Linked DNA regions of Homo sapiens: regions 2, 3 and 4 are each linked to region 1. The links are contacts of gene promoters, found by promoter capture Hi-C in blood cells and fetal thymus (Javierre and others, 2016). All regions are on one chromosome and are shown on one strand. The core of a region is centred on a gene start or on the middle of the fragment in contact, and the rest is flanking DNA. Distances in the headings are between cores, read along the strand shown.

Evidence for each region. Contacts are between HindIII fragments. The CHiCAGO score rates a contact against its expected background, and 5 or more counts as called.
Region 2: the fragment with the promoter of TOP2A here is called in contact with the fragment with the promoter of PPP1R1B in region 1 in 1 of 17 cell types (neutrophils); the score reaches 7.7 in neutrophils.
Region 3: the fragment with the promoter of CDC6 here is called in contact with the fragment with the promoter of PPP1R1B in region 1 in 2 of 17 cell types (non-activated CD4 T cells and naive CD8 T cells); the score reaches 9.4 in non-activated CD4 T cells.
Region 4: a contact is called between the fragment with the promoter of RAPGEFL1 here and the fragment with the promoter of PPP1R1B in region 1, in 5 of 17 cell types (total B cells, fetal thymus, naive CD8 T cells and 2 more). The highest score is 11.3, in total B cells.

What each region holds. Positions count from the first base shown.
Region 1 is chr17:39,623,937-39,630,389 of GRCh38, reverse strand. PPP1R1B (protein phosphatase 1 regulatory inhibitor subunit 1B) reads right to left here and starts at 3,438. Exons shown (of 7, transcript NM_032192.4): 1 at 2,917-3,438; 2 at 1,160-1,220; 3 at 828-850; 4 at 343-418. The coding sequence starts at 2,997. The HindIII fragment of the contact is 16,288 bases long and covers 1-6,453 here.
Region 2 is chr17:40,414,157-40,420,609 of GRCh38, reverse strand. TOP2A (DNA topoisomerase II alpha) reads left to right here and starts at 2,714. Exons shown (of 35, transcript NM_001067.4): 1 at 2,714-2,839; 2 at 3,715-3,870; 3 at 4,098-4,188; 4 at 4,542-4,605. The coding sequence starts at 2,819. RefSeq lists enhancers at 508-1,050, 2,719-2,808, 2,530-3,055. The HindIII fragment of the contact is 7,280 bases long and covers 2,439-6,453 here.
Region 3 is chr17:40,284,976-40,291,428 of GRCh38, reverse strand. CDC6 (cell division cycle 6) reads right to left here and starts at 3,550. Exons shown (of 12, transcript NM_001254.4): 1 at 3,339-3,550; 2 at 1,831-2,021; 3 at 90-371. The coding sequence starts at 2,008. RefSeq lists enhancers at 1-25, 2,935-3,004, 3,035-3,214, 2,983-3,790. The HindIII fragment of the contact is 8,752 bases long and covers 1-5,008 here.
Region 4 is chr17:40,174,055-40,180,507 of GRCh38, reverse strand. It overlaps RAPGEFL1 (Rap guanine nucleotide exchange factor like 1), which reads right to left and starts at 3,038. Exons shown (of 15, transcript NM_016339.6): 1 at 2,127-3,038. The coding sequence starts at 2,646. RefSeq lists enhancers at 1,055-1,909, 1,910-2,766, 3,158-3,658, 3,659-4,159 and a silencer at 2,997-3,126. The HindIII fragment of the contact is 3,169 bases long and covers 952-4,120 here.

The DNA of each region.
Region 1 (6,453 bases), core at 2,189-4,688:
AGCAGGGGTGGGAGGTGGTCCACCACAGGCTGGTGAAGAGGAGCTGCAGGTGGAGTCCCTTCCACGCGGATGCCTGCTGGTTGTCTTAGGCCAGCCATCTCTTTTCTTTCAAGCCCACAACCCGATGTTAAGGCCCATAGCTGCCCATTGCAGCCTCGGGACTCCTGTGTTTTGCAAGGCCAGACTGAGAAAAAATTGGTCTTTACGTTGGGTTGTTGCGCCACGCTGACAGCGGGCTATGTGTGGCGAAACAATCCCTCCCCACTGACAAAAGCTCCCCTAGCGTCTGCCCAGTTCCAGGGATCAGGCGGACAGCCAGGAAGGTCGGTGGGGGTATAGTACCTTTCAGCGAAGGTGGTGTGTAGGCACAGGGGTTGGGTCTCTTCGACTTGAGATGGTGCCCCTCTCCTGAGGCTCTCTGCCAGGGGAAGTGCCAGGTTAAAGGGGCTCAGCAGAGGCCCTTGCCTTCACCATCCCTCCATTCCATCCCACCCATGGCCACCCAAGCAGACTGATTTAGCCACTGCTAATGGGTCCTGCACCTAGGCTGAGCCTCCCCACCCTGTGGCTTTAGGGGGGGCCCCCCATAAGCCATGGCCTGGTTCAGGGCAGGACTCTAGGTCCAGGAGGTTCCACCCTGAGTCTGAGCAGAGGAGGATCTGCTGGTGGCACCCTGGCATGAGGCACTCTCAGAGGACTGCCCATTGATATGCTAATGTGTCCTCTTGGGTGGCACCCCATACTGGTTGGTTGTCACTGCAGGCACCCGTCCACCCCACCCCAAGGGGCCCAGGCATCCCTCCTTCCAGCTGCCCCAGGAAACTCACCTGGTGGGGGGAGGCTTCCTCCTCTGAGGAAGGCCACCAAAGCCAACCGAACCAGAACCAAGCGAGGAGGAAAAGAGAAGAGGGAGAGAGAGAAAGAATCCGAGTTATTTTCCCCAGGGTCTCAATCTCTGGGGACAGGGAAAGTGTGCCCTCTCCCTCCTGCGGCTGGGAGGTGTCATGTCAATAAATAAAGCCAATAGAGTTGGGTTCCCAGACCTTATCCACTCCCCAGTCTCCAGCTTTGACTCCTGTTCATGGGACTTTGGCAGGGCCCCTAGGAAGGCATCAGAGCTAGGGTGGGGCCAGGGCTAAGTGGGCAGGGAGGGGCCTACCTGGTGAGGAGTGCTCTGAGAGCCGGAACAGCATGGCAGGCGTTGGTCTCCTGCGCCGGATCTAAGGAGATGGAGGGAGGGGTGACTGGATGGACACCTGCAGCCCTCCCCCACCCCCAGGCAGCAGGGAACAAACAGTGCTTTGGAGTCCCCAGGGAACCTTTGAATCAAAGTCTGTCAGAGCCAAAAGGAACTCTGTAGCTCACCTAACCCCCTCATTTTACAGAGGTGAAAAAGCAGGGCTCAGAGAGATTTGGCAATGTGCTTAAGGCCACACAGCACAACAAGTCCAAAGGACGAGAAAAACCCCAGTCACTGACTCCCAGCCCATGCCTGTCCCACTCCATGGCTACTCCAGAACAGACATCTCCCTTCCTATCTTCTCCCACCAAGGCCCTTCCTCTCTCCAGTTTCTGAAAACATCAGACCTCGGAAGCCAAAGCTGGCTACAGCTCCAGCTGCCACGGCTGGGCCCTCTGGGGAAGATGCCCCACGGGCCATGGCACCCATGTGGCCCTGCCCACCTAAGATCAGCTCAAGGGCTTCAAACAAGCTGGATCCAGCTTTTCAGAAGGAGACTGAGCCAGCGCACTGCAGGCACCCCCCACCTCCAGCTGAGGCTCAGGGACCCAAAGGGGCCTGGGGGACCTCTCTGGGGGCCTTGGTTTGGGCTTCTTTTCCAGTCTCTGTAAGGCTGCAGAACTCTTCACCCAGTCCTTGTGAGAAATGAAAAGTTGCCCTCCTTGCTACGTGAGCCAAGCAGCAACTGACCGCCCCCCTCCCCGCCCCGCCCCTCAGCTTGGCAATCAGACCAACTGTCAGTTAATTAGGTCCCTGTTGAGCTCCAGGGAAATGCACAAAGAGAACCAGGTGAGTTAAGCTGAAACTGCCACCTCCCCAGCCAAGCTCCCCATGACACCCTCATGACCCAAAGCTGCTTAGGCCCAGGACTGTACCCCCTGCCCTCTATCTCCCCCCATAATGACTTGGCCCCCTCATCACTGCTCAGTGGGGAGCCAGCTGCATCTCAGCTCAGCAACAAGTGACCCCTGCTCCACTAGGGATGGGAAGTGGAGCTCTCTGTCACAGCACCCGCCAGCCTTTGGAAGCCCCTCAACCCCCAAGAAGGCCCTCAGGAGGACTCAGTAGTCTGTGGGAAGAGGTCTGGCTTTGTGATGACTCCCCACCTCTCCCTCCTTGGGGTTGGGGCTCTGGGGCCTGACAGCAGGAGGCCAGAGCCAGGTTCTGGAGACCCCAGCCCAGGCACACACGCGGGATTAGAGAGGGGCAGGGTAGTGGATTCACCCGGTGGCAGCCTCATACTCCTGCCCTGGGTGACAAGGTCAGTGTCCACCGCTGCTCACATCTGACCAGCTCTGGGACAGAGCCAGGCGGAGCGGTCCCGGTGGTAGCCTAGGAGACTGACTACCCTTTGGGGACTGTGCTGGGACCAAAGGACGCCCCCACCCCACTCCTGGGCGGTCTGGAATCGGCCTGTCCCCCCACCCCCGCACCCCCAGCCTCACTGCCAGGAACTCTCTTGCCCCGGGATCAGGACCAAAGCCGCGGGGAAAAGTTGCACGAGTCTCCAGCTAACTTCACACGCGGCCCCGCGCCCCGTCCTGACCGAGGCAGAGCCCGGCTCTCCTTGCGCCCCCACCCCCAGGCCAGTCCGGCCGGGGCAGCGCCTTGGGAGGGCGAAGAAGCCCCGCGGGGTGTGTCGGGTACGCTGCCGGGGTGGGGCACGGGCCCCTTACCATCTCCACCTGGCGGGGGTCGAGCTGGCTAGGGGGCGCGGGCACCGAGAACTGGATCTTCTTGCGGTCCTTGGGGTCCATGGCGCGCGGGGTGGGCGGTGGGGCTGGGGTGCGCGACTCGGGGTCCCGGCGGCGGTCTGTGCTGGGCTCCCCCGCGCAGGCGGCGGGCTGTGCGGCGAGAGGAGGAGGAGGGCTGTTCGCGCACGGATAAAAATACCGTGCCCGCCGAGGGGAGGGCGCGGGAGCGGGAGGAGGGTCGGCGCCCGGGCTGGGCGCGCCCCCAGGCTCTCGGGACTCGGGGCTCGCCCCCCGCGCTCGCTGAGCCAGGTCTGTGCCTCGCTCCCTCGCGCTCCCCGGCCTGGGTGTCTCTGCGTCTCGGTGTCTCTCCCCTCCTGAGTGTCTCTGCGTCTCGGTGTCTCTCCCCTCCTGAGTGTCTCTGCGTGTCTCCTCTCTCTGCCTCTCCCGTCCTTCTCCACCTCCCTCCCTCAGCCTCTCCTCCTCTCCGCGTGTGTCTCTGCCTCTGCCGGGCTCACCCTCCGGTCCCAGCTTTGGGGTCCCCAGCCCGTCCCCTCCGCCTGGGACTGGCGCCCGGGTGCTCGGAGGGAGGGTTTAGGGGAAACTGGCCAATGAGCATGGAGAATCGTGTTCTCCTGGGGCTGGGAGGAGGGTGGGAGTTAGAGCCAAGGCCTGGGGAGCCAGCTGGGGGGCCCCCTGCGGTCTCCCCAGAACTTGAAGCTGCATTATTGATGGAGTCCAGCAGAGAGGATAAAGGGGGAGGGAGGGGGAGAGGGGCAGCGGGGAGGCAGGACTCTGGCTTTAACCCCTTCGTGGTCCTGGTACTGGGAGTTTCAGAGAGGCCTGCGAGGTCGTGGGGAGAGTACCAGCCTGTCACGCTGTGAATGGGGGTGTCCTGGAAAGGGAGCGAGTGTGACCGAGTTGTGTGTGGGAGGACACGTGTCAGTCATCGTGGCAGGGAGAGTGTGCAGGGGTGTGCCGGGGCCCTGTGGTGCCCATAGCCAGGGAGTGTGTTTTGGGGGGTCCGGTGTGGTGTGAGTGTGTCTGTGTAAGTGTGTCAGAGTGTCAAAGATGCAGGTGTGAGTGGCAGGGTGTGGGAGGACTGCGTGTGTGCGGGGGAGGGTGTGGGTGTGGGGGAGGATGTCAGAGGCTGTCAAGGTGATGGGCAGGCGTGTGCCAGCTTGCAGGGGGTGGGGGACTGTATCCACAGCTCCGCTGTGCAGTTGCTGGGGTATGAGGTTGTGGATGTGTGAGCGCTCCTGTGAGGGAGAAGGGGAATGTGCCCTGCCATGATGTACTGTAGATTCACGTGGCTCCTGTCTTTCCTCTCCGGATCTAATGGGGTGGGGAGGACAGGGCCGGCCCAGAGTTGGGGTGGGTTTGGGGGCTGCCTGTACACGTGCCATCACGTGCATGAATTTGGTGCATTCAGAAGCAGGGTTGGGGGAGACAGGTGTGAGCCTCTCTCTCTCCAGAGGTATTTGTGTGTGTCTCTGGAGCGGGAGCGGGAGGAGCTGGCCCTGTGGGTGGAATGTCCCTGTCTATTTGGTCTATTTGTCCGGGCCTTGGGTGCCTTTGCAGGAGCTGCTGTTTCCCTCCTTGGAGCTGTGCAGAGGGTCTGAATGCTTCTGTCTAGCACTGAGAGGGTGTGTGTAGACGTGTACATGCATGTTTTCCTGGGGCTCTGTTTGTGTTGGCGTCCTCTCTCCTGGTCACTCTCAGGCCTGAAACCCCCAATCCTCCTGCAGCTTTTCCACTCCCAGCCCCAGCATCTGGGTCCTGGGTGGAGTGAAAGGCCAGAGGAATCTTCTGGAATTGGGGTCAGGGCCCACTCTGGGGGTGAGGGAAAGGGTGGCAGGAGGTCCAGAGTGTTGCTCATAGGAGTGGGATGTCCTGGCCATCCAGCTCCACATCAGCCCACCCCAGGCCTGGCTCAAGTCCCTGTATGTTTGTTGACTTATATACTTGTTGGGAAACAGCTGGATGATAAGTTGTTGGCCCAGGGGTGTAGGCATCTCTGGCAGCCCCTAGGCTTGGCCCAGAACCTCTGTCGAAGATGGGGTGTGGTGGGGAGTGGCAAAGACCTGTTTGGCAGTGCCTTCGGAGGGTAAATAAGGAGGTCCTGAAAGGAAGAAGGGGTATGGGAAGGGCATGGCCCAGGCAGTGGCCCGGACAGCCACTGGGTGGGCAGAGGTGGGGAAGGGGCTTGTGGCTTCCAGTGCTGGCAGTGTGGGGAAGGATCGTGGGGATGAAGGGGACAGAGGATAGCTGGGAGGGTGATGAGAGGGTGGAGACAGGGAGGCATCAGCACCAGTTGCACCTCAGAGCCCATAGGAGCTGAAAAGGCCTCAGGGAACATGGCAGCTGAGCCCCATTTGAGCAGGAGGGCTTATTTACGGAGGCTCTGCTGAACTTATTGGAGCTCTGGGAGACCCCAGATCAGGAAACATTCCCCGGATCCCAGGCTGGGGCAGCTGAGAAGGGAGATGAGGGCAGAGAAGCCTCCCTCTCAGCTAGGCCTGGAAGATGAGGTCTTTGGGAGCGGAGGGAGGGTTTTTGCCCATCTCCCCCAGCCTGTGGCCAGGCTGGCATCTAAATCCTGGGGCCAAGAAGGGTGGGGAAGACTGGCTGACAGAGGGACAGACATGAAGGAGGAGGAAGAGACTGCACAGAGACAGGACGTGAGAGAGAGATTGGGGGGAGAGAGGAGAAAGCAAAGAGAGACAGAAAACATGGTTGAGAGATGGAGAGACAAAGGGAGGCAGAGAGAGAGACAGCGAACCTCACAACAGAGAAAGGCAGAAGACAGAGATGGAGAGAGAGTAAAAATAGCTCAGCATTAAGATAATTGCAGCTCGCAGCTCTGCCCTCCGTTAGGAATTAAATGAGGTTTTATTACTTTGATTTTTCTCTCCTGGATCCTACGCGACTTCTCAAGAACTTGGGGAAAAGTTTTTCAGGTGGGCGGCCAGGTGGTGGGGGCTGTGTGGGCGACAGAGGAGGAAGGGAATGGGACTCCTGAGAGCTGGAGGAGGGGTGGGCAGGGGCAAGGAGTGGGGAGGGGCTGCTGGGGACAGTGGAGTCCGGCAGGGGCTGGGGGAGATGGCTAGGACCAGGCACAGGGTGGGGGTGGGAGGGCACTGAGAAGCAAGGGGCCAGGGTGCCCTGCATTCACTTTGACTTAGAATTAATCATATGCAAATAAGATGTAAAAATAATATGCCACTCCTTGGTTATTATTCTTGGGTTAGAAGCACAGGCGGTTGGGTCCAAGGAACAAATTCAAGACCTCATTTGACGTAACTCTGATTGAACTGTGGGTCTCTCTGCTTGGACTGACAGAAAAAGTTGACGGTAGGGTGTCTATTAATGTACCATAGGTCTGAGCACACTATTTTGAGGCGTTTCTTTCCCATCATGTATCTTCACGCCATTGCTGGATGCCTGCCGCGGGGCCTGGCGTGCAGGAGGCCCTGCATTCACCTTTGGAGGGAAAATCTGGGAGGGTGGTGTGAGGCCTTT
Region 2 (6,453 bases), core at 1,465-3,964, 790 kb before region 1:
GGGGTTTCACCAAGTTGTCCAGGCTGGTCTCAAACCCCTGAACTCAGGTGATCCACCCACCTCAGCCTCCCAAAGTGCTGGGATTACAGGCGTGAGCCACCACACCCGGTCCCCAAAGTCCTTTTGACTCCACAGTACTTCTTCTGGGTTTTTGGAACAAAGACACACAGGATCCAGCTAAACTGCAGGACAGATTTAAAGCTGGGCCCCTAAAAAATAGGGCTGGAGCTGCTTGTTAAATTCCTGTTGCCTCATTGCCCAGTGGGTCACTGCAGGCTGGGATGAGCTACAGGGTAGAGGCCGGGAGCTGCAGAAACTGAGCTGCCATCCTTGGGGAAGCATGCCCACCATCCCCACTACCTTGGAGGTAGTGCGTTCTAGGAGGTAGAAGCCAGCATGGCTGGTTTCTGTCAGGGCCCTCGGGTGTCCTGCAGAGAGTGGCATGCAGGCCCTGGATCCCAGGGCCTGGTCAGTCTTCTGGCTGAGCAGAGGCTACTGGCCAAGCTTCCCTACCACTGCTCTGAGCCCCTGGTGGTCCTGTGCTCTCTAACACATGTGGTGAGCAGAGCAGAGCTGGGAACACGCAGAGACTGCTGGAGGCCAGGGAGCCAAAGGTCAAGAGAGCAGAACAATGCCGAAGCACCATGCCTATGGTTTCCGAGTGCCCCTAGCCCATGGGCAACTTCCATCCTTGGCTTCCTGCCACATCATACGGCTCCCCATTGGCCCTCCCTTGACACACTGTGGTTATGTAACAATGGTTGACCTCTGGTTTCTTTTAGAAGAAGAAAAAAAAAATTACATCCACAATTGTCACACCAGCCTAAGGAAAATTCCTGCTACCTAATACTGTCAGCCCACTGTTTACCTTACACTTCTCTCATGTAACCCTCACACTACTCTGAGATCATAGTTAATTATTCTTTTTAGGAGAGGAAACGGAAGCACCGAGAGGCTTCCTCCATCGAAATGACACGAATGGCAAATTGCTGAGTTGGGACTGAAACCCAGGTAGAGGAAGGAAGCAATGAATGGAAAGAGGTGGCTCAGCTGGAATTAGTAGGCACTCAAATTGTGCAGTTTTTTTTTTTCTGGCTTCTTGTAAGGGTAATAACTTTGTTTAATCCACTCAAACATTTATATGTAAGAGTAATTTTAAAACTTCAGTCTTCGCCGGGCACAGTGACTCACACCTGTAATCCCAGCACTTTGAGAGGCTGAGGCGGGCAGATCACTTGAGGTCAGAAGTTTGAAACCAACCTGGTCAACATGGCAAAACCCTGTCTCTACTAAAAAAATACAAAAATTAGCCAGGCGTGGTGGCAGGCGCCTGTAATTCTAGCTACACGGGAGGCTGAGGCAGGAGAATCGCTTGAACCCGCGAGGTGAAGGTTGCAGTGAGCCTAGATCGCGCCATTGCACTCCAGCCTGGGCGACAGAGTGAGATTCCATCTCAAAAAAAAAAAAAGCAACAAAAAAACAAGCAAACAAAAAAGCTTCAGTCTTGGCATTTCCTTGTCAAATTGGAACAGCTGTTCTGGACTGCAGGGTTCACGGAGGTGAGCAAAAGTAGCCAGTCGGAGGGTATCTGGCCAGCTGGCTGCGGAAAAGGTTTCAGCCCCGGACGGCTGAGCCCACCCTCAGCTCAAGAGGCTACCACCACAAGTTATCCCTTTCGATTTACCAGTTGCAGTCCAGCGCTGCTCTACTGGGGACCTGAATGCTGCCCTCCATTTTGCAAAGCCTTTCTACATCCTTCCACTATATGGAACCCCCAAACCACAACTGTGGCACTTTTATTTTAATTATTTTTATTATTTATTTATTTATGTATTTATCTCTTGAGGTGGCCTCGCTCTGTCACTCAGGCTGGAGTGCAGTGGAGCAATCACGGTTCAAGGCGCCTCGATCTCCGATCCCCGGGGCTCAAGCGATCCTCCCTCCTCAGCCTCCGGAGCTGGAGTTACAGGTGTGCGATGCCTCGCCTGGCTATTTTTTTTCCTTTTTGGGTAGAGACGGGGTCTCGCTATGTTGCCCAGGCTGGTCTCCAACTCCTAGGCTCCAGCGATCCTCCCGCCTCGGCCTCCCAATGTGCTGCGAATACAGACTCCAGCCACCGCACACAGCCTACTTTTATTTCTTTGAAAAATGAATTCGAGGGTAAAGGGGGCGGGGTTGAGGCAGATGCCAGAATCTGTTCGCTTCAACCAAGCAGCCAGGCTGCCTGTCCAGAAAGCCGGCACTCAGTTTCCTCAGGAAAACGAAGCTAAGGCTCCCATTCCCCTCGCTAACAACGTCAGAACAGAGGACAGTTTTTAGATTTCAGGGATCTTAAATAGATTGGCAGTTCCTGGAGAATAAACATCCTTTGCTTTTCTCCTGCACACTTTTGCCTCAGGCCACCCCTTCCCGCTTCCAAAGCCCATCTCTTCCAAGCTTTCCGCACGAGAAAACAAGTGAGCCCTTCTCATTGGCCAGATTCCCTGTCAATCTCTCCGCTATGACGCCGAGTGGTGCCTTTTGAAGCCTCTCTAGTCCCGCCTCCCTAACCTGATTGGTTTATTCAAACAAACCCCGGCCAACTCAGCCGTTCATAGGTGGATATAAAAGGCAAGCTACGATTGGTTCTTCTGGACGGAGACGGTGAGAGCGAGTCAGGGATTGGCTGGTCTGCTTCGGGCGGGCTAAAGGAAGGTTCAAGTGGAGCTCTCCTAACCGACGCGCGTCTGTGGAGAAGCGGCTTGGTCGGGGGTGGTCTCGTGGGGTCCTGCCTGTTTAGTCGCTTTCAGGGTTCTTGAGCCCCTTCACGACCGTCACCATGGAAGTGTCACCATTGCAGGTACGGCTCGCGGGGGGGACTGGCGGTGGAGCCTCCGCGCGGCCCGGGCATCTCTCTGGCCGCCCGTGACGGGTGAAGCTCTGGGGCTGCGGTCAGGCCGGCGACCGGCTTGGGAGCCCATATTCTCCATTCCCGGTTCCGGGGTGATCGTGGAGAGGCGGAAGCCCCTTCTGGTGCTAGTAGTGAAGTATGACCCGGCTTCCAGGGTGTCGTGCGTTGTTGCCCTGTTTCTAGGGGCAGGAGTCCGTTGGTCCCGTAGTGGATCCATGTTACAGCGGCCCGGGTGCGACGTTATTGAGTCGCGCGTACAGATGCTTTCCCCTCCTGCCCGCTGCTTGAAAACGGTCTTGAATGTCCCCGATCTTGGAAAGGGCAGAGCCTAGCACAGTGTTTCTCTGGAGCAGCTGGCCAGCTTACAAAAGCGCCCCCTTCCTGAGTTCACAACGCTCAGGTGGCCAAGGGATTGAACGGATAGCCGCCCAAACTGCTGCTGCCGAACTAGAATTATTTACGGTGTCGTGTGCTCGGGACACCGTAAATAATTTATAATAATAGGCACTCGGTAAATAATGTATGCAGGAACTGAAAGAAGTGGGTGTATTTTATTGATGACATCTACCATGTTGCTCAAGAAAAGAGGTTTCCAGACAGACCCACTTGGTGAGATAATATGTGTCTGTTTAACCTGACACCTGGGGACCTGGCCGCAGCGAATTTAAATTGTCCTATTTGTACAAAACTGGCAACTCCACCACTGCCTACTAACAGATTGCAATGCATGTTGACATCTCACTATGGTAGGCATTTTGTTCCTAGTTTAGGGTAAACTTATGATTAAAAATTCCCTTCTTTCTCTCTTTTTTTTTAATTGCTAGCCTGTAAATGAAAATATGCAAGTCAACAAAATAAAGAAAAATGAAGATGCTAAGAAAAGACTGTCTGTTGAAAGAATCTATCAAAAGAAAACACAATTGGAACATATTTTGCTCCGCCCAGACACCTACATTGGTTCTGTGGAATTAGTGACCCAGGTAAAATCAAGCTCATCAAAGGCAGTTAACCTAGTAGTTGAAATGGATACTCTTCTTTCTGTACCTTTCATGTACTGAGTGTGACCTTTCTGTATCTCTCATGTACTGAGTGTCACTGGAACTGGCCTAAATATGGTAATACTTAATATGAACACTTTATGGTAATCATGATAACAGAACAATGAATATAGAATAAAAATAACAGTATTTCTTTGCCTTATTTCTAGCAAATGTGGGTTTACGATGAAGATGTTGGCATTAACTATAGGGAAGTCACTTTTGTTCCTGGTTTGTACAAAATCTTTGATGAGATTCTAGGTGAGTAAATCCTTTAATATAAAGATCTGGTCAAATCTTTCATAAGAAGTATCATTCCAAATAAAAATTTAAAAAAGATAAAAGTAAAAACAAAAAGTATCATTTCTACCAAACCTGCTGTAGCCAGGGCTCCTGTCATTTCAATCAGTTGATAAAGGTGAGCTGGTTTCCTGGAGCCCAGGAGGTTGAGCTTCTCGTAGAAACAGTACTATGGACAAAAATTGCTAAATTAACACCTTGTTAATGCCACTCCTGTGCTGTTTGGGAACTTTTTTTTCTATATCTTACTTAGAGTTACAGAATGTTTCTTAAAACACTAATTTCTTACAAATGTATATTTTATTTTCTTTCAGTTAATGCTGCGGACAACAAACAAAGGGACCCAAAAATGTCTTGTATTAGAGTCACAATTGATCCGTACGTCTTTTGCTTAGTTTTTGTTATGTAGCTCGTTGCTATTGTTAGCTGCATGTATTTTGATTACTGGTGAAGTTGGCTTTTCCTAAACAGAAGTTGAGAAAAGTACACAAAAGCAGAATGCTAAAATGAAAAACCTATGGATACCCACCACCTAGATCCAACAGTTGCCAACGTTTTTCCATATTTTCTCCATCTTTTTTTTAATTAGTTAATTTTTTTAGAGGAAGGGGTCTTGCTATTTTGCCTGGGCTGGTCTTAGAACTCCTGGCCTGAAGCAATCCTCCAGTGTTGGCATTATGGGTGTGTGCCATGGCACGCGGCCTATTTGCTCTGGATCATTTCAAAATAAATTACAGGACTTATGACACCTAATCCCTAAATATTTGAGCAAGCACCTTCAGTAATTGCTTTAAGTATTCTGGCATCTGGAGTTTTAACTTTTTCTCATGATGCTATTCAAACAGTAAACCAGTAGGTGGTGGTAGAGAATAATTTGATCTGACATTTCTGCTTATAAATGCGGGGTGTCCCTTAGTGGGTGATCAGGGTGCTTATTTCACTTTTTTGTTAGTCTGATTGATTATGACAAAGTATACCTGGATTTTCCTAAGGACTCAATATCATAGTCTTTAAAAAATGTTGAGCTAGGGCCAGGCACGGTGGCTCATGCCTGTGATCCCAGCACTTTGGGAGGCCGATGCGGGCGGATCACAAGGTCAGGAGATCAAGACCATCCTGGCTAACACGGTGAAACCCTGTCTCCACTAAAAATACAAAAAATTAGCCGGGTGTAGTGGTGGGCGCCTGTAGTCCCAGCTACTCGAGAGGCTGAGGCAGGAGAATGGCATGAACCCGGGAGGTGGAGCTTGCAGTGAGCCGAGATTGCACCACTGCACTCCAGCCTGGGTGACACAGCAAGACTCTGTCTCAAAAAAAAAAAAAAAGTTGAGCTAATTTTAATTAGTTTTTTTTATAGATAATAAGTACTATGTAGAACAAGAACCATAATGTATATCGAGTTATTAACTAAAATATAGTACCATCCAAGAATTAACTTAAAATAACTGAAATAAGTTTTCAGCATTTTATTTGAGAGCAAGGCAGTTTATGATTGATATTGGTTTTCCTTTTTTTTTTTTTTTTTTTTGATGGAGTTTTGCTCTTATTGCCCAGTCTGGAGTGCAGTGGCATGATCTCGGCTCACCGCAACATCCACCTCCTGGGTTCAAGCAATTCTCCTGCCTCAGCCTCCAGAGTAGCTGGGATTACAGGCGCACACCACCACACCTGGCTAATTTTGTATTTTTTTTAGTAGAGATGGGGTTTCTGCATGTTGGTCAGGCTGGTCTCGAACTCCTGACCTCAAGTGATCTGCCTGCCTTAGCCTCCCAAAGTGCTGGGATTGCTGGGATTACAGGCGTGAGCCACTGCGCCCAGCCTGTTTTTATGTACTTTGTTGAGTGGGAACGAGATGTATAGATGATCCTCTTGAAAGGGGTATAATAGGCATGATGACTCACTCCTGTAATCCCAGCACTTTGGGAGGCCAAGGTGGGAGGATCAGTTGAGCCCAGGAGTAGTTTGAGACCAGCCTGGGCCATATAGTGAGACCCTCATCTCTACAAAAAATTTAAAAATTAGCCAGGTGTGGTGATGGACACCTGTAGTCCCAGCTATTCAGGAGGCTGAAGTGGGAGGATTGCTTGAGCCCAGGAGGTCAAGACTGCAGTAAGCTGTGATCCTGCCATTACACTGCAGCCTGGGTGACAGAGCGAGATGCTGTCTCAAAAAAGGAGTGGGAGTGGTGTATAATAATGTTTCCAGATTGTCCTTTTCTTTCCATTG
Region 3 (6,453 bases), core at 2,301-4,800, 660 kb before region 1:
TGAATGAGAAGACCCAGTGGGTGGTTTCATTTGGAGTCATCAGCCTTGGTTACAATGGCTGCACTAACAGTTGCCATGTAAGAACAAACCTTCTTGCTTGAATAGTCTCACACATGCAGATTCTTTCTTCAGTGGACATCTCTGCTCAGAATTTGTTGTGATCTCTTGACTTTTTCTAACTGAAGAAAGTATTTTGTTTTGGTGAACTTTGGCTAGTTCTCTTTTGCTAGGAGACTTAATTGTCAGCTGATTGTCAAATACCAATCTTCGTCCCTTAAGTGTATGTGAGTGAGGGGGACCATTCTCTTTCTTGCCTTGCTTTGGTGGAGAACAAGGAGGTAAATGGGGAGTGTTGCATAGGTTGTCATCGCCTGAAACACAATAAAATAAAAATGTAGTCACTCATAGCATTGGATAGTAAAAGGATGTGCAAGACCTCTGCCTCTTCCAGAAAGAGGTGAATTTCTACCTTAGTCAGAACCACCAAAATAAAATGCCTTCTCACTTAGCAGCAAATATTGGTCACCAGATGGCACCACTGATCTTACTACAGTAGTCCCTTCATCCACCGTTCTAGTTACCCTCAGTCTGAAAATACTAAATGGAAAATTCCAGAAATAAACAATTGACAAGTTTTAAATTGCATGCTGTGGAGTGCCATGATGAAATCCCGCACCATCCTACCCAAGACATGAATCATCCCTTCAGCCAGCATATCCACACTGTATATGCTATCCACCCACTAGTCACTTAGTAGCTGACTTGGTTATCAAATCAAAAACACAGTATATGTAGGGTTTGGTACTGTCCTCGATTGCAGGCGTCCACTGGGGGTCTTGGAATGTATCCCCCATGGATAAGTGGGGACTACTGCATTTAGTAGAAACCAAATGGGTTTTAGTAGGATGAAATTGTAAGGCTATTTTGAAACAGGTTTTCTCAACCTTGGCACCACTGACATCTTGGACCAAATAATTCTTCATTGTCAAGGAGCTGTCCTGTGCATTGTAATGTCTAGCAGCATCCCTGGCCTCTACCCACTATGCCAGTAGCAACCCCCAGCTGTAACAACCAAAAATGTCTCCAGAAACAACCAAATTACCCCCCATTTAAAAATAAATGTTCCAAAACAAGAAAGAATTACCAATCACTGTCCTAAAGGATGGAAAATATTCATCATGTCACGTTTTTGTTTCTTTTAATTTCACAAATATTGAGGTAAGTTTCATAATACCATGTAACTACAAGGTAACTTAAAACATTGACAGAACTAAGTTCAGTATTAAGGAATTGAAGATCAGACTTATTAAGTAGTTCAGAGTGACCTCAGTAAGTGTCTAACTCTGGAGTTCGGTAAGCACTTAGCAACCATTCTGAAAATAACTAAAATGAAGAGTAGTCTTAGGCCAGGAGCGGTAGCTCATGCCTATAATCCCAGCACTTTGGGAGGCCGAGGCAGTTGGATCACCTGAGGTCAGGAGTTCAGAGACCAGATTGGCCAATATGGCAAAACCCTGTCTCAACTAAAAATCCAAAAAAAAAAAAAAAAAAAATTAGCCAGGCTTGGTGGTGGGCGCCTGTAATCCCAGCTACTTGGGAGGCTGAGGCAGGAGAATCGCTTGAACCCAGGAGGCGGAGGTTGCAGTGAGCCAAGATCGCACTATTGCACTCCAGCCTGGGAGATGGAGCGAGACTCTGTCTCAAAAAAAAAAAAAAAAAAAAAAAGAAGTCTTAACTGAACTTAGAAAGCTCCTTCAAAGGACACACATCTTACCAAGAAAAGAAAGGTCACGAGCTGCTAGTGAAAAAGTGATATAATGGATGGTTTACCCAGACGTTTCCTGGGGCTGAGAGGCAGGGCTTTTACACGAGGAGAACAGGTTACGGTTTGGACATTTGTTGGTTCTAGTTTGGCATCACTGGAGTTTTTAGCTTTGTTCAATGCCCGAGACAGCTTCCTTTTTGGAAAACTGATTGTAGCCTGTGCCTGGGATCGGGTTTGAGGCATGACGACAGCACAGCTAGATTAAAAAAAATAAGAGGACAACTAGTCAATATGTGAAAGTGAAGAGAAAATAACTAACATGGAATTTATTTATACTGATGATTAACACTTATTTCCTAATTATGTTATCACACTTATTTTAGCATTCACTTTTGCTTCACATCCAAATCTATGCAAGAACAGCTGACATTTGTTGTCTACCTACTACGTGGAAGGGCGCTGTTATAAACACTTTAGGTACCAACTCGTTTAACAACGATCTTAGGAGTAGGTACTATTATTAGCCTTTATTTTACACATGAGAAAACTGAGATAAACAGTGGCCCAAAGTCACAGAAAAACAGGAATGTAACCCCGGGCATCTGGTGCCAGAGCCCAAGTTCTTAACCAATTGAGCGATGCAATAACAAGTTACCTGAAATGGGCCGGGCGCGGTGGCCCACGCCTGTAATCCCAGCACTTTGGGAGGCTGAGGCGGGCGGATCACCTGAGGTCAGGAGTTCGAGACCAGCCTGACCAACATGGAGAAACCCCGTCTCTACTAAAAATACAAAAATTACGGCCAAACGCGGTGGCTCACGCCTGTAATCCCAACACTTTGGGAGGCCGAGACGGGCCGAGACCATCCTGGCTAACACGGTGAAACCCCGTCTCTACTAAAAATGCAAAAAATTAGCCGGGCGTGGTGGTGGGCGCCTGTAGTCCCAGCTACTCGGGAGGCTGAGGCAGGAGAATGGCATGAACCCGGGAGGCGGAGCTTGCAGTGAGCCGAGATCGCGCCACTGCACTCCAGCCTGGGAGACCGAGCGAGACTCCGTCTCAAAAAAAAAAAAAAAATTAGCCGGACGTGGTGGCGGGCGCCTGTAGTCCCAGCTACATGAAGAGGCTGAGGCAGGAGAATGGCTTGAACCCGGCAGGCAGAGGTTGCAGTGAGCCGAGATCGCACCACTGCACTACAGCCTGGGCGACAAGAGCGAGACTCCGTCTCAAAAAAAAAAAAAAGTTACATGAATTGATTTATATAGAACTTCTAGTTTCCTCCCTCCAGGCACGCGGGGTGTCTTTATCACCAGTTCAGCCCAGCACCCGCCACATTTAGTCTCTTCTATCCCAAGCCCTCACACTGCAGCTCAGTCTTCCCTCAGTTCTTTCCGCCCCTGCACTCAGTCCTCATTCTAGGCAGCTCTCAACGCACCCCAGAATATTTCCTTCCTACAACTTTCACCTCCTTCACACCACGCATAACTGCTAGAACTACCCCGAGGGCACCTGCCCTTTCCCTGATCCCGACCTCAGACCTCCAGCGAGCTCAGCTCTTTTCCCTTCACTTCACCTCAGGCCTCGCCGGAACCCGCAGCCTTCACCCAGCTCCGCTGCCTCACAGACCCCAGGCCTCCTCGAGCAATCCTCTTCTTTCCACCTCCTCAGTGCAGGATCCTTCTCACGTCTCTCACACGCAGCCTCTCGGACTCACCACCACAAGCCCCTGAACAAACTGCACAGCGGCAGCAGCAAACTCCAGCCGCGCTCGCGCCAAATCCGAATGGCCACAGCGTTCCCACCTCCCGCCAAAGCCCGGCCTCGATTCTGATTGGCTGTAGTCACAGAGCCTTTCGCCTTGGGCACCGCCTCTTTTTTTGCTACCAATCCAGTGGAAGAGTTACAGCCAATGAGAGAGCCCCAAGTCTTAGAGTCGCTGTGAGGCCACGACCACTGAACGGGGGAGGGAATCTACATCCGGGGCCTCGGTGGAAAGACGCGCGATTGCGGCAGGGCGACTCTGGGTAAAGCGGGCCGGCCCGCCGCAAAGCACGCTGGGAGGCGTAGTCTTTGCTGCCGCGCAGTCGCACTCTTCCTTCGACTGGAAGTGTCAAGATGTGGTTCCCCTTCTCACTGCCTAAAGTACCCATTTGCATCATCCTGATGGGCTAGATTTTCAGAACTGCTACATGATACCTACCGTTTTGGGTTCTGTGCGCCAGGTATGATGCTAGGCACTTTCCTTACCTCTCTAATGCTCAACCTCGCAAAGTACAAAGCAAACTTCTATACAAGGTTAGAGGTCACAGCATCTTGGTGACAGTGAAGAGCCTAGGATCCAGATCTCCTGATGGCTGAACTAGTGATTTTTATGGTAAAGTTCTACACACCTATATAAAGAAAAACTATGCTTCATCATAGTATCTCTTGATTTGTGCTTCAAAGGTGAGAAACAGAGCCAACTCTTTACTTTTATTTCGTTCAACCTAAGAATATTATGTTCTGTGCATCTTCTTACCATTAATCCACACATCATGGGGAGGGAATTATGACCCCTTAATTTTAAAATCTTTTATGGCGAAACACTAGGGTTTCAGGGCCAGGGAAGACAGCTATATAGAAGAGGCAAGCTGAGTTTTTAATGAAAAATATAAATTAGCGCAGTAATTTGAAGGCCAGCTTCCAAAGCCAATAATTCATCTAAGCCTCAGGTTCCTTTAGAGGCCAGAACCCAATTCTAGGTGATGGTAAACATTTATCTTTTACCCCTCAGTAACAAACAAAATAGAGCCATAAAGCCTAGAAAGAGGGAAGCAACAATATTACGATCATCAGTGAATTGGTACCTAGTTCATGAAGAGAGCCAATATTGAGTGCTTAAGTGTATGCCAGGGGCTGTGCTCAGTATTTTACCTACATCACCTTATTAATCTTCACAAGCACCCCCATGAACCTGGTGTTATTTCACTTTACAAATGAGGGAACTACAGTAGAGGGGAGTTGAGTAAACTTGCCCAAGGTCACACAACTAGTAAGTGGAAGAGCTAGAATTTGAACTCTGAACTCTGACAGAAAATCAAACTCTTGACCACTTTATCATAGGGGGATGATTAGACAGATTCAGGTTCTAAACAGGAAGAGATGGTGGAGTACATTTCGTGAAGGCTTTTTAGCAGCTGAAAACTACAAAAGTGAAGAGAATGGGCTGCCATGAATGGAGAAAGTTACCACACAATGGAAGCTTTTTTTTTTTTTATTTTTGAGACAAGTCTCATTTTATCACCCAGGCTTGAGTGCCGTGCCATGATCTCGGCTCACTGCAATCTCCACCACCTGGGTTCAAGCCATTCTCCTGCCTCAGCCTCCTGAGTAGCCGGGACTACAGGCACGCGTCACCACGCCTGGCTAATATTTGAATTTTTAGTAGAGGGGTTTCACCATGTTGGCCAGGTTGGTCTCAAACTCCTGACTTCATGATCCACCCACCTCAGCCTCCCACAGTGCTGGGATTACAGGCATGAACCACCGCTCTTGGCCACAGTGGAAGCTTTTAAAAGGACTAGATGGTATTTCTGATGTCTTAGTAGGATAGTAGAACTCAGGAAGCAACCTTCACTGTTCGTATTTTTATAACATGGGCACCTAAGAATTGCCCTTAATAACCTGAAATGGTAATGTGTGCCCAGCCAGCTGTAAGGGGTGGTTATGGTAAACAACCTAGGAAGCTATGAGTACTTAGCATGCATATTGGAACCTATGAAAACACCAGGAAATGGCTGGGTGCGGTGGCTCACGCCTGTAATCCCAGCACTTTGGGAGGCTGAGGCGGGTGGATCACGAGGTCAGGAAATCGAGACCATCCTGGCTAACACGGTGAAACCCCGTCTCTACTAAAATACAAAAAAATTAGCCAGGCGTGGTGGCGGGTGCCTATAGTCCCAGCCACTCAGAAGGCTGCGGCGGGAGAATGGTGTGAACCCGGGAGGTGGAGCTTGCAGTGAGTGGAGATCACGCCACGCCACTGCACTCCGGCCTGGGCGACAAAGCGAGACTCCGCCTCAAAAAAAAAAGAAAAGAAGACACTAGGAAACATAGCAGTGGCCCAAGAAAAGCCTACAGGTGTAAATGACCACTGTGGAAGCAGGCAAATAATCACAGAATGTCAGGACTGAAAGGTTATCTACTTGAAGCTTTTCCTTTGCACTAATAATGATCCTCCAGTAACGTGATGCGTACACATCATATTGTTTCTTGCTTCTGTGCCTTTGTTTTTGCTGTTTCCTCTGTCTGGAATGCCACTAACCATCCATCTTCCCTGGCTAACTCCCATAAAGCCTTTTAATATCCTGCATAGGTTTCTCCTGGTAGCTATCCTGAAGTCTACTAAACTATGAGTTCCTTGGAGTCAAAGACCATGTCTTAGCCTTGCACAGTGGCATGCATCTGTAATTCCAGCTACTCGGGAGGCTGAGGTGGGAGGATCCCTTGAGCCCAGTTTGAGGACAGCCTGGACAACATAGGGAGACCCATTTCCAAGTTGGAAAAAAAAAAAAAAGACTTTTTATTTGGAGTCTCGCTCTGTCGCCCAGGCTGGAGTGCAGTGGCACAATCTCAGCTCACTGCAACCTCCACCCAACCGGGTTCAAGCAACTCTCCTGCCTCAGCCTCCTGAGTAGCTGGGATTACAG
Region 4 (6,453 bases), core at 1,789-4,288, 550 kb before region 1:
TGTAAGTTCTCTCCTCCCACACACCCTGGGAGGAGACCAGGATGACTTGAGAACATTGGTTTTATTGGAGAACATCAGAGTGGCAGGTTAAGCTGATTCTCATTCACCTGGGACTGGTTTGGAATTTCCCAAACTAGTTACTCTGGGGATCCAGGCTGCCAGATAACATGGGTGACATTTCAGGAGTCTTACCCCAGGGGAGAATGAGCGGAGCGTGTGGCACCAGGCCCCTGTAAAAGGGGAAAGACAGCTTCTCCCTTTTCCTCCCTGCCCAGCTACCCTGCTGTGTTCTTACAATGAGTCAGAGAGCCTCCAGCTCTGACCCCCAGCTTCAGGGATGAGGGTGAGGAAACGAGAGGCCTGACATCCTTCATAGACTTTATCTCACAGGATTCCTAAGCTGGAGCAAAGGAAGAGTAAGATGGGGCAGAGTTGGGGAGATGCTGATATGGGGGCCACAGTTGGGCATCTGTCTTTTCCAAAGCAGGCTCTGGGCCAATGTACAGCCTCCCTAGGGAATGTGTCATAGAGACACAGGGTGTGTGGTGTAGGCGGGAAGTTATGGTTAGGAGAGCTGTGTGTGTCTGATATTTTTCTAATTAAATCCAAAAGGTGTCAGCTCCCCAGGGCAACTACAGCCTGCTCCAAAGGAGAGGACCCAGGTCTTGAGAAGGATCTAGGAGAGTGGAGCCCCCCTCCACACATCTAGGTTGGGGTTCCCTGCCGAGGGCTGAGAGCAAGTGTGAAAGCCCTCACCATTAGGGCCTCAGCCGGGGCTCCCAAACCTCAGACCCTCCTGGGCTTAGAGTAATGCCTAGAGCTAGACCTAAAGAACCCTCGGTCTTCTACCTCAGAACTAACCAGATTTGGGGCCTTGGTTTCCTCAAAGGCCCCTTAGTAGGGGTGCTGAAAGGGAGTGGTGAAATAGTATCATCATTTAGGGAATAAGCTTCTCAGGGTGTGGTGATTATATTTTAAAGAGGCCGTGTGCCAGGTCCGGTGGCTCACGCCTGTAATCCCAGCACTTTGGGAGGCCGTGGGGTGGGGGTGGGGGGAGGTAGATAACGAGGTCAGGAGTTCAAGACCAGCCTGACCAAGTTGGTGAAACCCCGAAACCCCGTCTCTACTAAAACTACAAAAATTAGCCAGGCCAGTGGCTCACGCCTGTAATCCCAGCACTTTGGGAGGCCAAGGCAGGTGGATCACGAGGTCAGGAGTTCGAGACCATCCTGGCTAACACGGTGAAACCCCTGTCTCTACTAAAAATACAAAAATTAGCCAGGCGTGGTGCCACATGCCTGTAGTCCCAGCTACTCAGGAGGCTGAGGCAGGAGAATCGCTTGAACCTGGGCGGTGGAGGTTGCAGTGAGCTGAGATGGCGCCACTGCACTCCAGCCTGGGTGACAGTGAGACTACATCTCCAAAAGAAAAAAAAAAAAAAGCCGGGTGCTGAGGCCTGCCACCGAAGGGTGGAAGCTGGAGGCGCTTGGACACCCTGGATGCTGCAGGGCCATGATGCCGGCCCAGCCACCTCTCCCCTCCCAGACACCTTCTGAGTCCAGCCCAAGGAGAATACTATCCCCCCCACCAAACTGCTAAGGACAACGCATCCCTTTGCTGATGCCTAAAAGGCAGCTTGGGGCCTGTGCCTGTCTGGCACTGCCTCCCTGGGTGGGTCAGCCTGCGCTGTGTAGGCCTCTGAACAGTCAGGGACCCCAGGGTTTTCAGGGCTAAAGCACCTCTGGCGGGTGGCATGGCTGCGCTGGGCAGCTCCCATTTTAATGTGTCAGGCCCTAATTTGGGGCCACAGGAGGAGGTATTCAACATCAGGGACCCATGGGAGTCAGTGGCTCCAATGCCCAGGGGAAAGGAAGGGTGGCTGAAGGAGAGTAAGAGGCTCAGCTGCTTCTCCAGACGAGGGTGAGGCTGCTGTAGGGAGGAAGGTGAGTACTGCTCTCCTCTTCCGCGGGAGGGTCTGTACCTCCGCTAGGCCCCTAGCCGGCTTCCGCGGACCACTCAACCCTATAACCAAGCCCCGGCACGGCGCCACCCCTACGCTCCAAGGGCAAGGAAGAGGAGCCGGGGCCAGCCCCTGCTCTGGGTGTTCGAGCCCACCGGCTCCTTACCTGAGGCGGCGCTGTCCCTGGTAGCCCCTCCAGCAAGCCGCTCCAGAACCCGGTTCAGAAGATGCTCGGGCCGCTCGGGGGCGCCCAGAGGGGCCCAGGGCGGCGAAGTCAAGGGCTCGCCTGGGGACAGCTCGTCAGATGAGTAGGAGGAAGGGGAGCGCAGGGGCCCCCCTCCCCCGAGAGGCCCGGGCCCCGGCACCTCCTCCAGCTGCAGCCAGCAGGGCCCCCCGCTGCCCGGCTCCTCCGCGACCCCCGCCGGCTCTCCTCCTTCCTCCTCAGGGGGCGGCTCCAGCCCCGGCTCGGCGGGGGGCTCCCGGAGGAAAGCGGGGAGCAGCAGGCGAGACACGCTCTGACGCCGCTGCAACGACCGCTGTCCCCCGGCTGGACCGCCGCCCCCGCCGGGTCCCCCACCCCCTCCAGGCCCACCGCAGCTCCCCAGACCCCCGCCGGGACCTCCCGCCACCGTTCGGCCCGCCAGCTGCGACGTCTGCTTCTTCAGAAATTTCTCCAGCGGCTTCATGCCCCCCCCCGCCCCTCTCCTAGGGGTCGCCGGGGGACCCAGGTATCCCAGGCGCGGGCGGGGGGGGCGGCGAAGACACGATGCTCAGAGCTGGAGGAGCAGAGTAGAGGGCCGTGCCAGGCGCCAGACTGGGGGCCAGAGGGGCCGAGCCTCGCTGGCCAGAGTCCAGTGGCCAGTAGCCGGGGGAGGTGCCAGAGGAAAGGAGTGCTCGCTCTCAGCAACCCCCCATGCCGGCTGCAGCCGGCACGCGGCCCGAAGAGTGGGCAGGCTGCGGGGCCGGTGCGCCCGGCTCTGCGCTGCGGCGGCAGAGGCAGCGGGCGGAGCGCAAGGCTGAGAGGACGCGGCGGCGGCGGCGGCGGCGGCTGCGCTCCTGGCCGTGAAGAGGGGGAAGGTGGCAGAACCGAGACCGCGCCCCCTCCTCCAGTCCCCGCCCAGTCCCCGCCCCTACCCTTCCTCGGCTCGCCCCCGCGCCGCACGAGGCTTGAACTCGCGCGCTGGGGTTGACCGCGAGGGAAACAGTAAGGGACTTGGGTTCTAAGCAGAAGAAATTAAGGGCAAAGGTAAGTCAGAGATTTACCAATGGGGAAGGATTCCTGGCTCAAGGGATAACCGGGTCTCAGCATCATTTCAAAGAGTCAGGACAGGTCTGTGGCCTGGACACCTTCACTCACCTACCTGTGTACCCAAGTCAGGCCTACAGATTGCTGAACCCAAGAGTGTGCACCTTTCTCATACTCACAGAAATATGTGGAGTTTATCTTCCTTCTGTGAGAAGAGCTGGGAAGGCCTCTTGGGTGAATTAGCATTGCCACTGGAGGCGGTGCCCATCTGTCCTCTCTGGTAGGGCACAATAGGTGGTGTGGGCCTGGTCTGTGGGCAGGTACTGGCAGGCAGGTAGGAGCCAGGCAGGGAGCAGCAGGTTGTGGCAGGTCTAGCTGGGGTGAGGAGGGGATAATAGGCAGTGGGGAGGAGACCAGGAGCACAAGGGCACCTGAGCCCAGCTGGCAGCAGAAGGAAGCAGGGCCATGGAGACAGGTGACAAGCCCCAGAACTGCCGACTATCATCAAGCACAGAGCCCAAGTGTACATGGCCATGGAGTGGGAAAAGTGGTGCCAATTAGCACTCCAAGTAATCCTTACTCCTGATGCCCACACCAGGAGCATTCTGTCCTTAAGGATATGCTGCCCCAGAAGGAGTGTGGGGGAGGAGGGGGGTGCATCGTAAAGCCATGCTAAGTGTGAGAACATCCAGGTTAGACTTACAAGGTGTGGGAGTGGCAGCAGGTTCTCGATGGGTTGAGGCTCTCTGGACAATGCCCCACCCCTGTTTACCGAGCACCAACCAGGCAGAGACAGGAATGCTAATGGCTGGGAGTGGTAGTAAAACTGAACAGGGTGTGTATGACATACGTATCAATGTATGTGCATATCTGTTCCCATGTGTGCTAGAGCATGTGTTCACAGAAATAAAGCTTTGCACACCCATCTGTTTGTGGATTTGGAAACAGTAAAAAGAAGACAGCGCACAATTTTGGCTAAGAAGCTGTATTAGAGGTCTGAGTATCAGCTTCCTGTGCTCCCCTTATTGGACACTCCAATATCCCCTGGCTTGAAAGGGGAAAGTGGCTGGAATGGGTTGGAGCTCCCCAGGTAGCATTTTATGAACTGAATAGGAAGAGGGAAGGGCTTCTCTCCCAGCACATGCCACAGTTACCAGATTAAGCCGGTTGCCTTGGTAACCTTCTCTCTGGGCAGGATTTGGGAATTGTTGGTTAGGAAGGGCGAATTGGGGAGTGTGAAGGGTGTAGGGGGTTGAAAATAAAACAGACTGAGAGACTTCTGGAAGCTAGAAGCTTGGGACACAGGACCCCAGTACTCCCCCAAATGCTCAAGGATGTCAGGCAGAGACTAAGTTCAACATTTTGAATCAGTGAGGAGAGCCAGCATCAAGTCATGGTCCTCCTGGAGTGGCAGTGGTTTTCACCCTGACTACACACTGGAATCACAGGGAAGCTTCTCAGAAATACTGATGCTGGCTGGGCTTGGTGGCTCACGCCTGTAATCTCAACACTTTGGGAAGCCAAGGCGGGCAGATCACTTGAGGTCATGAGTTCAAGACCAGCCTGACCAACATGGTGAAACCCCACTTCTAAAAATACAAAAAAAATTAGCCGGGCATGGTGGCACACACCTGTAATCCAAGCTACTTTGGAGGCTGAGGTAGAAGGATTGCTTGAACCTGGGAGGTGAAGGTTGCAGTGAGCTGTTATCATGCCACTGCACTCCAGCCTGGGTGAGAGACTCCATATTAAAAAAAAAAAAAAAATACTGGCCAAGTGCAACAGCTCACGCCTATAATCCCGGTACTTTGGGAGGCCGAGAAGGGTGCAACATGAGGTCAGAAGTTCGAGACCAGTCTGGCCAACATAGTGAAACCCTGTCTCTACTAAAAATACAAACATTTGCTGGGCATGGTGGCTGGTGCCTGTAATCTCAGCTACTCAGGAGGCTGAGGCAGGAGAATCGCTTGAACCCGGGAGGTGGAGGCTGCAGTGAGCCGAGATCATGCCACTGCACTCCAGCCTGGGCAACAAGAGCAAGACTGTCTCAAAAAAAAAAAAAACAAACAAACAAAAAAAAAACTGATGCCTAGGCCATATCTCAGACCAATTAAATCAGATTTCTGAACCAGGGCGAAGGCTTATGGTATTTTTTAAAAAGCTCCTCACATGACACAAATGGCCAGGATTGAAAATCACTGCCCTAGACGGACAGTCAACCCAAGTGGGCTGCAGATGCTGGGAGCTGACTTTGGAATTCCAAGTCTTTGGTGCTCCGAGTTGCCTACAAGGTAGCAGGTCTGTGCGCTGACCCTGAAGGGGAAGAGAGCTGGCAGAGCATTTGCACCCGCTTATGGAAGAAATAAAGAGGAAGGCAGGGTGGTATGAATAACAACTATGAGATGGGGGCGAAAAAGCTTTGAGCTTTTTTTGAGCCCATGGGCTTCTACAAGGGGACTGGGCAGGGCCACCTCAGGCTATCTGTCTGCTGCTTACACACCCTCTTCTTTCTGCCCACCCAGAGGCAGGCTGGGAGGATAGAGAGAACCTGGGGGCTTTGCTGAGCTTGAGTTTCTTCTTGCAGAGCTGGTTACCAGGGCAACAGAGAGAGCAATAGGGTCTAACTGAAGGACTAGGGAAGCAAGAGGCAAGGGTAAAGGGGAAGCATCCAACACTCAAACCTCCTGCCAGTAACCCACCCCCAAGGCTGGATGGCATTTTTTCATAACCCCAGGAGATCAGGCCTACAGTCACCCATCACATTGTGGGGAAGAGAAGCAAACTGACATGATTTAAAGAGGAATTAGGGGCCCAGCGTGGTGGCTCACGCCTGTAATCCCAGAACTTTGGGAGGCCAAGCTGAGCCAATCACCTGAGGCCAGGAATTTGAGACCAGCCTGGCCAACATGGTGAAACCCCATCTCTACTAAAAATACAGAAAAAAAGTAGTGGGGCATGGTGGCGGGCGCCTGTAAACCCCAGCTACTTGGGAGGCTGAGGCAGGAGAATCGCTTAAACCCGGGAGGTGGAGGTTGTGGTGAGCCGAGATCGTGCCACTGCACTCCAGCCTGGGCGACAGAGTGAGACTCAGTCTAAAAAAAAAAAAGGAATTAGGGACGGGGCTCAGAAAAGTCACAGTCCTCTGGCTGTGGCACCAGCACCAAGATATGGGGGAAGTCCCATCTGTCTTTATAAGATGTACAATAGTTGGGCACAGCAGCTCAAGCCTGTAATCCCAGCACTTTGG